Linked DNA regions of Homo sapiens: regions 2, 3, 4 and 5 are each linked to region 1. The links are contacts of gene promoters, found by promoter capture Hi-C in blood cells and fetal thymus (Javierre and others, 2016). All regions are on one chromosome and are shown on one strand. The core of a region is centred on a gene start or on the middle of the fragment in contact, and the rest is flanking DNA. Distances in the headings are between cores, read along the strand shown.

Region 1 (2,672 bases), core at 97-2,596:
TTATATTTGGAAGGCAGGAGCCATACTGGTGAAAACAGACCTAGTGTCTTTTAAAGTCACCCTATAGTATAATACTGTGGTTCTCAATTGTTTCCCCCCTTCAATCTCAAACTTTTTTTTTTTTTTTTTTAAGACAGGGTCTCTCTCTGTCGCCCAGGCTGGAGTGCAGTGGCATGATCTTGGCTCACTGCAACCTTCACCTCCTGGGTTCAAGTGATCCTCCTGCCTCAGCCTCCCTGGTAGCTGGGACTACAGGCGAGTCCCACCGCTCCCCGCTAACTTTTGTCTTTCTAGTAGAGACGGGTTTTGCCATGTTGGCCAGGCTGGTCTTGAACTCCTGACCTCAGGTGATCCACCTGCCTCGGCCTCCCAAAGTGCTGGGATTACAGGCGTGAGCCACCGCGCCCAGCCCAATCTCAAACTTTTAATGCATGCAACTCACTCGGATCAGTAGCAGTGGCTCATGGTGGCAGTAATGCAGAGCTGGGTGGCAGAAGGAAAAAATCAATCTGGTTGGTGGGTGGGAATTCTGCCTTGGATTCTCCCCTTAATCATCATAAGCTTTCCAAACCGAATAAAAATTTACAACCTTTTTGGCAATCTTTACTTCATTACCTACCTGGAAGAATTTATGTCCTCAGTGGAGTTTCTTTAACTCCATTAATGTCAATTAGTTGTTTTAGGTGCTGCAAAATGATAATACGTTCTTGGGGACATTTATCCTTTACAACATGCTTTTTATGCTTGTTTGTGTGTTTTGATTTGAAAGACTTAGAGATGCAGGCTAGGGTGACTGGGACAGATATGGGGTCCCTGGCTACTGAATGAGACTTGGGAGGCAGATGACTTGTTTTTATGCCGATAAAGAGTAAAATCTCAAGTTGCGGTTGATTTTAAAATGCAAGCAGGGCTGGAGAGGCCCATGGCAGACCTAGTTTGGGGTGAGCACCCGGATCTGTGAGCTAGTGTTGCTTCAGCATCTCACTGTGTGTGTGTGTGCGCGCGCGTGTGTGTGTGTGCGCGCGCGCGCGCGTGTGTGTAGGCTGGTTCCACCCTTTGCTGTCCCATCGGCACTACCCTTAACCTCCGTCTCTGCGTAACTATATTAATAGAAGGCAACACTTCACATACTGGCGCTCAGACCCCAAAGAGAGGCTGGCAGTGGCTTGGCAGGTGGGCATGCAGCAGGGAGATGGGTGGAGGAGTGGGCGGAGGCATCGTCGAGTGGCGTTAGGCAAAACCAATGGCAGTTCGGGATAGGGGCGGCCGGGGCGGAGGCGCCGAGGCCGATCGGCCAATAGAGGGCGAGCAACTACTGGAGCGACCTGGTGACGTGAGGAGCGTTCCATTTGGCCAGTGGTGGGCGGTTGCCACAGCTGGTTTAGGGCCCCGACCACTGGGGCCCCTTGTCAGGAGGAGACAGCCTCCCGGCCCGGGGAGGACAAGTCGCTGCCACCTTTGGCTGCCGACGTGATTCCCTGGGACGGTCCGTTTCCTGCCGTCAGCTGCCGGCCGAGTTGGGTCTCCGTGGTTCAGGTAACGAGGGGTGGGGGCGGGGGTCTCCTGGGCTCGGCTGCAGGGTGGGCTGCCTCCCCTTCCGCGGCGCCTGGAGGCGGGGACGTCGGCACCGCCCTTCTCAACTCGGCAGCCGCCGAGCCCCTGGCCCGGGGTGACTACACGTGGCGGGGCGTGTGTGAGTGTGTACGAGCGTGTGGCTGCGTGTGCGTGTGGATGTGGCGCGCGTCCCAACCTGCCTGGGGCGGTGGTCCGCGGCGTGGCGGAGTCAGGGCGGGCCTCGAGAGGCCGCGCCCGCGGCTCGGCCCCGGACTCCGGCCTCCGGCCTCCGGCCCCCCGCTGGGGAGCCGGTCGCTGCTTCCCGACGGATTTTGATCTTTGTTCTTCCAGGCCGGCTCCCCCTTCCTGGTCTCCCTTCTCCCGCTGGGCCGGTTTATCGGGAGGAGATTGTCTTCCAGGTTAGTTTTACACAAAGGACGGGTTCTCTGCACCTCTGGGCCCCCCTCCCCTTCCCCGAACCTTCTACCTTCTCGTTTCCCTGCTCCGCTCCTAGGCTGTTTTTGGACCTTTGCCCTCTCCAGCCCGCGAGTTGGCTGTTTCTCCCTCCGTCCGTCGGGCTGCAGGCTTCCGCCTCAGTCCTGCCAGCGTGGGGCATGTGGTGTCGGTAAATAGAGGCCACAACACCACACCTGAGCGGAGGAGAAGGGTAGCAGAGGCTGAGAAACTCTGGGCCTGGGAATTCAGGATGCTGAGTAGAGATGGTACTTAGGACATGTCCCAGAAAGCGCCCTTGTGACTTTTCTTAGCTGCTGCCATTCCCCACCCCCCAACCAGCCATCAGCAGTCACCAACCATTCCAGAATCTCTCCTGCTTAAGTCAGCCTTTCACCTACAGGTCTCTGATGTGGTTTCATTAAGATTCTCACAAATGTTAGGCTAGACCAGCCAGATTGTTTCATTTCCCGGACTCAGGAAGTTGCAGAGGGTTTGATGAGGGGAAATCTGTTTTGTGTAAATACAATGCACGTATGTGCACAGAGCGTCCAGAACCTCCTGGCCCTGCCAGAGGGTGACTTGTTCCCTGCTGTGATTCATATTCGAGTGGCTAATTGAAGAAAGAAGGTGAAGTGGAGGAAGGGAGGGAGGTTTTATAAGGA
Region 2 (2,672 bases), core at 72-2,571, 290 kb after region 1:
ATGCTCTAAACCGTGCTGTCCAATATGGTAGCTAACAATTTGATATGTGACTACTGCAACTGAGGGACTGAATTTCTCATTTTATTTCTAATTATTTTAAATAGGCACATGTAGCCAGTGGCTACTGTATTGGATAGCACAGTCCACACACAATCACATCATCTCTTATGATTTTGAATATCATCTACGTGCTAGTGACCCAGATGACTTTCTTCTGAGATTCAGATGCATACATTCACTTGCCAATTTATCATCTACACTCAGGTGTCTCAAAAAAAATCTCAGCCGGGTGAGGTGGCTCATGCCTGTTAATCCCAGCACTTTGGAAGGCCGAGGTGGGCAGATCACCTGAGGTCAGGAGTTCCAGACCAGCCTGGCCAATAAGGCAAAACCCCATCTCTACTGAAAGTACAAAAATCAGCTGGGCGTGGTGGCGGGTGCCTGTAATCCCAGCTACTCAGGAGGCTGAGGCAGGGGAATAGCTTCAACCCGGGAGGCAGAGGTTGCAGTGAGCTGAGATCGCGCCACTGCCCTCCAGCCTGGGCGATAAGACCGAGGCTCCATCTCAAAAAACAAAAAAAAAATCTCAAACTAAACATGACTAAAACTAAATTAATGACCCTTCCCCCTTGAGGAAAACTCATTCTTTGTGCAGTGTTCTTATTTCTGCAAATGGTACCATCATCCACAGTCATGTCAGAAACCCGAGATTCATCCTTGACACTTCCTCTCACCCCTTACACCCAAAACAATTCCTATGGATTTTACCTCCAAAAACATCTATCAAGTCTGACTGCTTCTCTTCATTACTAATGCCACCACACTCTCTAGCTTACACTATGGAAACAGCCTCCTAACTGGTCTCTCTGCTTCCATGCAAATGATGACACCCCAGCATAAAATCCTTCATACGATTCTCATTTTTGAAATCTCAAAATTCAGATTTAAGACAAGGCTTACAAGATCCTGCCAGATCTGCCCCCTAGCCTGTTTTTCTTACCTTGGTGCCCAAGACCTGTTTTAGGCACCCTGGTCTTCTATCACTTCAAAGAAAAGTGTCAAGCTACTTCCCAGCCTGGAGCCTTGTGATTCCCTTTACCTGGTAAATTCTTCTCTCTCCCATCTTAACCTGCCTCTTACTTAGCCCCTCTGGTCTCAATTTAAATGTCAATTCTTCAAAGAGGTCTTCCCTGACCACCCTCCTAATATACTTACTCTTCTCATAAACTCTTAGTACTTTTCCTCAAGAGCATTTATTAAAACTACAATTATCTGGGCCAGGCACGGTGGCTCACGCCTGTAATCCCAGCACTTTGGGAGGCCAAGGCGGGCAGATCACGAGGTCAAGAGATTGAGACCATCCTGGCTAACATGGTGAAATCCTGTCTTCACTAAAAACACAAAAAATTAGCCAGGCATGGTGGCAGGTGCCTGTAGTCCCAGCTACTCGGGAGGCTGAGACAGGAGAATGGTGTGAACCTGGAAGGCGGAGCTTGCAGTGAGCCAAGATGGCACCGCTGCACTCCAGCCTGGATGACAGAGCAAGACTCCATCTCAAAAAAACAAACAAAAAAAACTACAATTATCTATATCTTATCAGTTTAAAGTCTGTTTCCTATATTAAAATCCTTAAAGTATCATGACTGTACTGCTTTCTGCTATATCCCTAGAGCCTAGTGTAGTTCCTGGCACATAAAAAATAGTCATATTTTTATAGAATGAATGATTGAATTATAGGTATCTGTGTGACACTAGTACTGAATTGCACAGAAGCAAGAACCAAAGTAGGAGCAGCAACTTTATCTTTGTCGTTCTGTACTGATTCTGCACTTACAAAAGTGCCTGAGAAATAGAAGGCACTCAACAAATATTTGTTGAATAATGGATAAACAAGGGACAGTTTAATTTTAGGAAATTAGTACAATACAGTGTACCAATTGGTCAAATAAGGAAGAATAAAATCATCTCCATAAATACCAAAAAGACATTTGCTAAAATTCAGTATACATTCATAATTTTAAAAAACACAAACTTGAAATAAATGCAGTTTCTTAATTAAAAAAAAAAAAAACCCTGTCAAATCAACAAGCAATAATGTCATTAACAGTGAAATACCACTTGAGGCATTCTCACTGAAATCAGGAGCCAAACAAGAAACATCATCATTTACCACTGGTCCCAAAATTCTCACTGGTATAGTGTACAACGATAGTAGCTACTAGAAAAGAGACAAAATTATTATTTATAGATATTAAGGTTAGCTACCAAAATGAAAAAACAAAATGAAAAGCAAAAAAGATTAAAAATAAATTTCAATGAAGCAACTGGATAAAAGATAAATATCCACAACTCAACAGCTATTCTGTATACTAGTAATAAACAATTAGAAGGACATAGAAAAAACCTCCACTCGCAATAGCAGCAAATAAAATCCACCACGAAATACTTAACCTAAAAACTATATATATTAAGAAACTATAAAATTTTATTGAAAGATATAAAAGAGGACCTGAAAAAAACAGATATATCATGTTCCTTGACAATGACTTAATTTTATAAAGAAGTTAATTTAATAAAATTTGGCACAGACCTATGGTGAAATATTTGGTTTTTAAAAAGCATATTATAAAGTAATTGTAAATGACATAAGAAAATGGGACAATATAATGTTA
Region 3 (2,672 bases), core at 121-2,620, 280 kb before region 1:
CTGAGTTCAGAGACCTGGTGCTTCACAGTTAAACCTGGAGACGGACTCATGGAAGGACCATCATCTCTTGACTCTTCTGCCTGCTGTCCTCATGCCAGACATCTGTCCTCTCTTAAGCTCCTTTTCTCTGAAATACGCTTATGGGCATACCTCACTTTACAGATTATTTCCTGGGAATACGATTCAAAGTTTCACAAGTCAACTCATTGTTTGGCATTTTAGATTGCTTAACTTTTAAAAATCAAATCTTATTATTATTATTTTGAGATGGAGTTTTGCTCTTGTTGCCCAGGCTGGAGTGCAATGGTGCGACCTAGGCTCATCACAACCTCTACCTCCCGGATTCAAGTGATTCTGCTGCCTCAGCCTCCCAAATAGCTGGGATTACAGGCATGCGCCACCACGCCTGGCTAATTTTGTATTTTTAGTAGAGATGGGGTTTCTCCATGATGGTCAGGCTGGTCTCAAACTCCCTATCTCAGGTTATCTGCCCGCCTCGGCCTCCCAAAGTGCTGGGGTTACAGGTGTGAGTCACCGCGCCCGGCCTAAAAACATCAAATCTTATTTAAGAGGAATTTGTTACTACTTTCAAGAGTCCTGTTGTTAAACTCCATGTATATAAAGAGAAAATTATTACCAGTCTGGATTTTTTTTAAATATTGGGTTTGATTAAGGGCAGTTTCAGCTTCAACCAAATCCCTTCTGAACACTGGGAGAACAGGCCAAATCTCCACCGTAAGAATTTGCAGTACAGGTATACCGAACAATACTATATAGATACAGGTTTACTCAAATGTGATCATATCCAAATGATATATCCAAATCTATATGTAGAAAACTCATCTAGGGTTGCGCACAGTGGCTCACGCCTGTAATCCCAGCACTTGGGGAGGCCAAGGCAGGTAGATCACCTGAGGTCAGGAGTTCGAGACCATCCTGGCCAACATGGTAAAACCCCATCTCTACTAAAAATACAAAAATTCGCCAGGCATGGTGGCATGCACCTGTAGTCCCAGCTACTCAGGAGGCTGAGACAGGAGAATTGCTTGAACCTGGGAGGCGGAGGTTACAGTGAGCCAAGATCACACCACTGCACTCCAGCCTGGGCAACACAGCAATATTCCATCTCAAAAAAAAAAAAAAAAGGAAAACTCATCTAGTATCCTGTGACATCGAAATTATTATACAGCAGTAATTGCTGCTTACAGAGATGGGGGTAAGACTAAGATCCTAGTGTTCCACAAATCATTAAGAAAAGATCAAATTGTGATTTGTCTTGCTTTAGTGTTGTATACAGTTTTGTCAAATTCTTTGACAGTAGTTATCCTTGTATAGTATGTCATTGTAGTTCAGTGGATTGAAATTAAATGATCTATTCATCTAATCAGTGTTCATTGGGTGCCTCCTGTGAGCCAGGTAGATGTCAGAATAGAAACATAGATAAAACATAGCCACTGCTTTTAAGGACCTCCTGGTGTCCGTGAGGAATGCAGACATGTGGATGCAGAACTCCAATACAATGAGCTACGTCCACAGAAGGACACAAAAAGTACTGTGGCCATGCCAAGAATGGAGAGATCAGCCACAGCAGCCATCCTGAGTCAACCACTGCTATTAGACCACTTCCTAAAGCCACCACTTGGTCCATGTCCCCTCCCTGTTTAAAAATGTACAGTGATTCCCTGTCACCAACCACATCAAGTTCAAAGTCTCCTGTAGTACTAAGCCCACTCTGTTTGGCTGACTTTCCGCCTGACTTTTAATATGGACATACACACACACACACACACACACACACACCTGGTTTATTGCCACCTTTAAACTTGTGTTCATGCTCTTCACATCCGGAACGCCATCCCTCCTCCCTTTATCTATCCAAATCCTACTCATCTTTCAAGGCCTACATCAAGTCCTGCCTTGGTGGCATGGTACCAGTTGGACTAGTGCCCATGCATGATTTCTCTCTGAACTCCAGTTGCACTTAGCACCTTTGAGTGTAATTGTTCTTTAAGTCATTCTAAAGGAATTGTCACCTGTCCCAGAGCAGAGCCCATGTTTTCTTTTCAGGATGGGGACCATATTGCTGCACCCTGGTGAAGTGCTGAGCAAGTCCTTGGTTGATTGGCTGGATGATGCTAGATAACAGGGCTGACTGTAAAAATGCACCTCTGTCTTGTAACCTCTGATCTCTGTAATTCAGGTTGTTTATGGGAGGATGTTCAGATCATCACCACTTCACTCAGCTGTCACAACTTGCCACTTACCCAGGATGCATTTAATCTGCCCAAGCCCCTGAGGATCCTGGGGTCCAAATTCTTTCTTTCTTTTCTTTTTTTTTTTCTTTTTGAGATGGAGTCTCGCTCTGTTGCCCAGGCTGGAGTGCAGTGGGTGATCTCAGCTCACTGCAACCTCCACCTCCTGGGTTCAAGCGATTCTCCTGCCTCAGCCTCCCGGGTAGCTGGGATTACAAGCACACGCCACCACACCCGGCTAATTTTTGTATTTTTAGTAGAGATGGGGTTTCGCCACGTTGGCCAGGCTGGTCTCGAACTCCTGACCTCAGGTGATCTGTCTTGCCTCGGCCTCCCAAAGTGCTGAGATTACAGGCATGAGCCACTGGCCTCTAGGGTCTGATTTCTGACTCCACAGACAAGCAGTGCCAGTCGAGGTTT
Region 4 (2,672 bases), core at 108-2,607, 270 kb after region 1:
TCTCCAAGACACACTGCTGAGTTAAAAAAAAAAATCAAGTTGCAGACCAACACATACATATAAGACCGTTTATGATATAGAGACACACACAAATCAGTATTTTGTCTATGAGTGAACAAAAAAGCATATACAAAGGTCTAGAACTGCACTGTCCAGTACAATAGTGACTAGCCACATAGGGAATTTGAATTTAAATTACTTTAAATTAAATTAAATTAGAAGTTCAGTTCTCAGTTGCACTAGCCACACTTCAAGTACTCAATAGCCCCCTGCTGCTAGAAGCCACTGGACTGGACAGCACAGATACAGGACATTTCCATCATCACAGAAAGCTCTATTGGACAGCACTGGTCTAGAAAGATATAAACTCCTAAGGGTAGTGGCCTGGCTGGGGAATGGGGGTTTAGGCAAAGTTGGGAGTAGGAGACAGAACAGGGATTGAAGAACTTCTGCCTTATCTGTCAATTCTGCTTAAATTTCCTTTTAATTTTTTTAAAAGCACTTGTCATTGCTGTATAATTTAAAAATCATTAAAAACTCAAAAGGCATATCTTTATTAAAGATATACATAAATACACAGGAAGCCTGAAAAAAAATGTAAATATCCCACTAGAAGCTCTGCATTAATGTGTATGGAGTATTAAAAACATCCCAAGGTTGGCTGCGAGCGGTGGCTCATGCCTGTAATCTCAGCACTTTGGGAGGCTGAGGCGGGTGGACCACAAGGTCAGGAGATCGAGATCATCCTGGCTAACATGGTGAAACCCCGTCTCTACTAAAAATACAAAAAATTAGCTGGGCGGGAGGCTGAGGCAAGAGAATGGCGTGAACCCAGGAGGCGGAGCTTGCAGTGAGCCAAGATCGTGCCACTGCACTCCAACCTGGGTGACAGAGCGAGACTCTGTCTCAAAAAAAAAAAAAAAAAAACCAAAAAACAAAAAACAAAAACAAACAAAAAAATCTGAAGGTTTTGAAAAGAAATGTAAACAAAAAAGCCAGGCATACCTGATCTAACCAAAGAGGTTAGTGTTTGAGGAAAGATACCCTCTCAAAATGGATTAAGAGAATTCAAATGAAGAAAAAGGGGCAGCCTGCAAGTACAAACTAGAAATTAGATGGGCTAAAAGAAGTTATCTAAAGGTATATTTCATCAAGTTCTATAGAATTATAGAGGTATTGTGGGGTAGTAGAAAGAGCACAGAGTTGGGAGTTAAGCCAACTTAAGATTGGAATCTCAGCTCTCCTCCTAGTTGAATGCTCTTAAATAAGTTATTTCAACTTGCTGTTCTCCATCTGCTCATCTGTTAAATGGGAAATACAGTTGTCCCTTGAGATCTGTGGGGGATTGATTCTGGCATGGCCTGTGTATAATCAAATTCACGCATACTCAAGTCCCACAGTTGGCCCTCCTTATACGTGGGTTTCACATCCTGTGAATACTGTATTTTCCATCTGCATTTGGTTGAAAATATCTGGATATAAGTGGATCTGTGTAGTTCAAACCCATGTTGTTGAAGGATCAACTGTATTTAACTCAAAGCGTTGTTGTGAGGAGTAAATGAGATGTGTGCAAATTGCCTCACATAGTCCCTGCCACACAGCCACTAGCTGCTATCTGAGGAACAGTTACTATTATTAATGATTATTATTTTAAAATTTCAAAATGGACAAAAGTAAAGTCATGATTGTCTTGATAAAATTTAAAATCTATTCTAAGACCAATAAATAATTCTGATCTTAAATGAAAAGCCCCAAAGTCTTTCTTCCTTAAAACAGGAGCAGGATAAAACAGGTTGGTGATATCTATCTCAGAAGCCCCCTAAATCAACACACACACAGAGGAAAGAAACCTATCCCATTATGCTCTTCACATGTCCGAACTCATTAATCTTCATGAGTATGTACCAATATTACCCACGCTTAATAGAGGAGGAAACTGAGGCATAAATATGTTACATAAATTGTCCATGGTTACACAGTTAGAAAGTGGTTGAACTCGGATGCAAATCCCAGAAGTCTACTACAAAGTCCATTCTACTAAGCACTGCACTATATACATTCTGACAGATTATAGGGCTGTAGATCTGAAAAATCCACAAGAAATAACCTAAATGTACTGGCTGTAACAAATTAAATCAGCATGATTACAAGATATGACCTACATACCAATAACACACAGTTTAAAAATACAATGGGAAAAAAACTTTACTCACAATACAGACAGAAAATTAAATAACTGGCCATTAATGCAGCCCAGGATAGAACAGAGTTAAAAAAAAATTCGCTGGGCACGGTGGCTCACGCCTGTAATCCCAGCACTCTGGGAGGCTGAGGCAGGGGCATCGCTTGAACCCGGGAAGAGGAGGTTGCAGTGAGCCAAGATCACACCACTGCACTCCAGCCCGGAGGATAGGGCAAGACTCCGTCTCAAAAAAAAAAAAAAAAAAAAAGAAAAAATAAGTGTAGGGATGACACTATATCCCTTAAGACAATATACAGAGTTGGCTGTATTCTGATCAGTCTGTGCCTTTGCTCCTGCTGTCTCTACCCTTCCACCCAGAATCTCCCTCCTGGTGTTTCCCTTCTTTACTATCTGATAAAACTTAGCTTTTAACTCTTCATTATGCATACCTACTTTAGGAAGCTCAAGTTACCACCTAACCACTATGTAG
Region 5 (2,672 bases), core at 107-2,606, 260 kb before region 1:
ATGATTGTTTGGCAAATGTGTGTCACATAAAAGACCAGGTCAGCTAGTGTGGGTGGCTCAGTGCAAACCCCTGTCTCCACTCCGGGAGATATAAACTGGCTGGCCAGCCTGCCACCCAAGCTGAGGGGATTTCGTTTGAAACCCCTCCCTTACCAGACACACACACACACACACACACACACACACACACACACACACACACAGGCCCCTGGGGAGTGGGAGAGATGGCAGGGGAGACGTAGGGCACTTAAATGACAGGAAAACTGACATGCCACTTGTGCTCATGGCAGTCTCAGGCTGGCTGGATCCCACCTTTTCCCCAGGGTTCTGGGATTTCTCTGGAAGCCCAGAGCTTCAGGTGGAGGAAAGAGATTTTCATAATTGTTCCCCACTCCACCATCTGGGAAATGAAGAATGTAGAGTTTCATGTGTTTCTGCCCAGACCGCTAAGGACTAGCCATATATTGCTTCCACTGATTCTGTGTCTCCCAAGGCTGGACATGGAGGAAGCTTGGCCCTGGTTGGGTTTAATTGGATAAAAAACTCCCGGACATCCCCCTGCCACATACACACACTCATCATTTTCCCTCTCTCACTGCCCTGCCTCCTCCCCAGCACATTTCAACACCAAAGGGACATACCAGAGGGCCCTGACTTCTTGGTTGGGAAATCATGCCCTAAGGTGAGTTTCTCGGCAAAGAGACCCCAGCCTGCTTCCAGGGTGAGGAGGAGGGTCAGGGAGCAGGGAAGGGTGTTTCATGCAGGAAGGTCTGCAAGGGAAAGTGCCAGAACATTTCTCAGAGAGGCTAACAAGAAGCAAGCTGAGCAGCTTGTAGAGGCTGAGCAAGCTTTCCCTTGAGTTGCCACCTTCTTTTCTTTTTTTAATTTGAGGCAGAGTCTTGCTCTGTCGCCCAGGCTGGAGTGCAGTGGTGTGATCTTGGCTCACTGCAACCTCCATCTCCCGGGTTCAAGCAATTCTCCTGCCTCAGCCTCCTAAGTAGCTGGGATTACAAGCACCTACCACCATGCCCAGCTAATTTTCTTTTTTTTTTGTATTTTTTAGTAAAGACGGGGTTTCACCATGTTGGCCAGCCTGGTCTCGAACCCCTGACCTCAGGTGATCCACCTGTCTTGGCCTCCCAAAGTGCTGGGATTACAGGCATGAGCCACCGCACCCAGCCGAGTTGCCACCTTCTTGATGGGTCATTTTCTTGGCCCAGTGTGGGCACTTCCTGCCTCTCAGAACACCTGACTCTCCTGAAGCTTCCTTTCCTCTTCCAGTGTGACCCAATATCCTTCCCAATACATGTTATTGTCTAGAGGAGGAAGAGCACAGGCTCTCTACATTTATATGCCAAACTTACTGGCTGTGTGACTATTTGCTGTTGAGCTAGTTACTTAACCACTCTGGGAGTCAGCGCCCATCTCACAGGGTTGGAGTGAAGCTTAAATGAGACGATGCATATAAAGCACTCAGCAGAGTGCCTGGCATATAGTACCCACCCAGTAAGTGTTCACTGCTGTTATTATTATTCCTGTGACAGTTATTATTATTGTTGTCACCATTTCCCCTTCACACACCCTTGACTTTGCCAGGCTCTAGGGACCAACTACTTCTTCGGCAATGCGGGCAGGGCATGCCACACCCATTTCTGAAACTAAGCGGGAGATTTTCCAGGTTTTTCTGCTTTTTGTTAACTCGGCCATTGCACAGGATAGGGAAAGGATGTAATAGAAGGTGTGTGTGTGTGTGTGTGTGTGTGTGTGTGTGTGTGTGTGTAATATACTGAATGGCAGGCAGTGCTGTAGTGAAGAGCAAAACTCAAATCGTTAATATTTGTACTAACATTGCCTTCTTTAGTCCTTCACCATTTTCATCTTGAGCATCATTCACTGCAGAAATAAGAGTAAGTTAGTTTCTTTGAGAGGCCTAACGTTGTACTCCTGGGAACTATTTAGCAATCATCAGATTGTTGTTATTATCCTACTGAGTGTAAAATTCTGGGAGCCAACTGGCTGACTACCACTCACTCTCACCCTTCACTAGAATAGATGATGGGTCCATTCTGGGCCAATGCCCAGAGGCCTTGAGTTGAGGCTGGGGCACTGCCTTTGCCCAGAAGAGCTCCCAGGGGACTGGGGGCCAGTGCCCTTCCAGAGGCCTCCCAGAGAGTAACTTGGAGGTTCCATTTGCTATTGACTGGATTGTGTTTGCTTGAGGAGCCTGTGACCACCCGCAGGGACAGGCAGCCTAGGATAAACTGGACCACCCCTGAGTAAAGCACTCCACTCAGTCCCTTGGTCCCCACCCCTCAGTTAGAACTGCTAGGCTTTGGGGGATGGGAGGGTGGCAATTATTCTTAACCTCCCGAAATTCCTGATGACCCGATAACAAGGAGGTATTTAGACATAGAATGAGGAGCTAATCTTTTTCCTATAATGCCCCCTGAGGATAACAGAGGCTAGTTCAGCTCTGCTAATTCTATGAGAATCTATGCACAGAAAACACCTGTCTCATTAGATGACCACTTCTAATTAGCCATTCTAATAAGTGTGCAGTGGTATCTCATTGTGATTTTAATTTGTATTTTCCTGATGATGTTTGTATTGACTGATGATGTTGAACATCTTTTCATATAGTTGCTGTCCATATGTCTTCTTTGTTGAGGTGT

The links. The method cuts DNA at HindIII sites, captures the fragments that hold promoters and counts their contacts. A CHiCAGO score of 5 or more calls a contact.
Region 2: a fragment that was not itself captured here is called in contact with the fragment with the promoter of ZDHHC9 in region 1 in 6 of 17 cell types (naive B cells, neutrophils, monocytes and 3 more); the score reaches 7.1 in naive B cells.
Region 3: a contact is called between a fragment that was not itself captured here and the fragment with the promoter of ZDHHC9 in region 1, in 9 of 17 cell types (non-activated CD4 T cells, activated CD4 T cells, neutrophils and 6 more). The highest score is 9.5, in non-activated CD4 T cells.
Region 4: a contact is called between a fragment that was not itself captured here and the fragment with the promoter of ZDHHC9 in region 1, in 1 of 17 cell types (neutrophils). The highest score is 7.2, in neutrophils.
Region 5: a contact is called between a fragment that was not itself captured here and the fragment with the promoter of ZDHHC9 in region 1, in 11 of 17 cell types (activated CD4 T cells, naive CD4 T cells, non-activated CD4 T cells and 8 more). The highest score is 12.2, in activated CD4 T cells.

What each region holds. Positions count from the first base shown.
Region 1 is chrX:129,842,560-129,845,231 of GRCh38, reverse strand. It overlaps ZDHHC9 (zDHHC palmitoyltransferase 9), which reads left to right and starts at 1,346. Exons shown (of 11, transcript NM_016032.4): 1 at 1,346-1,536; 2 at 1,906-1,973. The HindIII fragment of the contact is 4,624 bases long and covers 564-2,672 here.
Region 2 is chrX:129,550,337-129,553,008 of GRCh38, reverse strand. All of the region lies in intron 4 of OCRL (OCRL inositol polyphosphate-5-phosphatase), which reads right to left. Among named protein-coding and RNA genes, the nearest start is that of OCRL, 11 kb to the right of the region's middle. The HindIII fragment of the contact is 2,986 bases long and covers 1-2,672 here.
Region 3 is chrX:130,126,165-130,128,836 of GRCh38, reverse strand. It overlaps a transcript of RAB33A not described here. Among named protein-coding and RNA genes, the nearest start is that of ELF4, 17 kb to the right of the region's middle. The HindIII fragment of the contact is 9,973 bases long and covers 1-2,672 here.
Region 4 is chrX:129,569,619-129,572,290 of GRCh38, reverse strand. The region is part of intron 15 of OCRL (OCRL inositol polyphosphate-5-phosphatase); the gene reads right to left. Among named protein-coding and RNA genes, the nearest start is that of OCRL, 31 kb to the right of the region's middle. The HindIII fragment of the contact is 7,309 bases long and covers 1-2,672 here.
Region 5 is chrX:130,103,386-130,106,057 of GRCh38, reverse strand. All of the region lies in intron 1 of ELF4 (E74 like ETS transcription factor 4), which reads left to right. Among named protein-coding and RNA genes, the nearest start is that of ELF4, 5.8 kb to the left of the region's middle. RefSeq lists a silencer at 2,170-2,464. The HindIII fragment of the contact is 182 bases long and covers 1,266-1,447 here.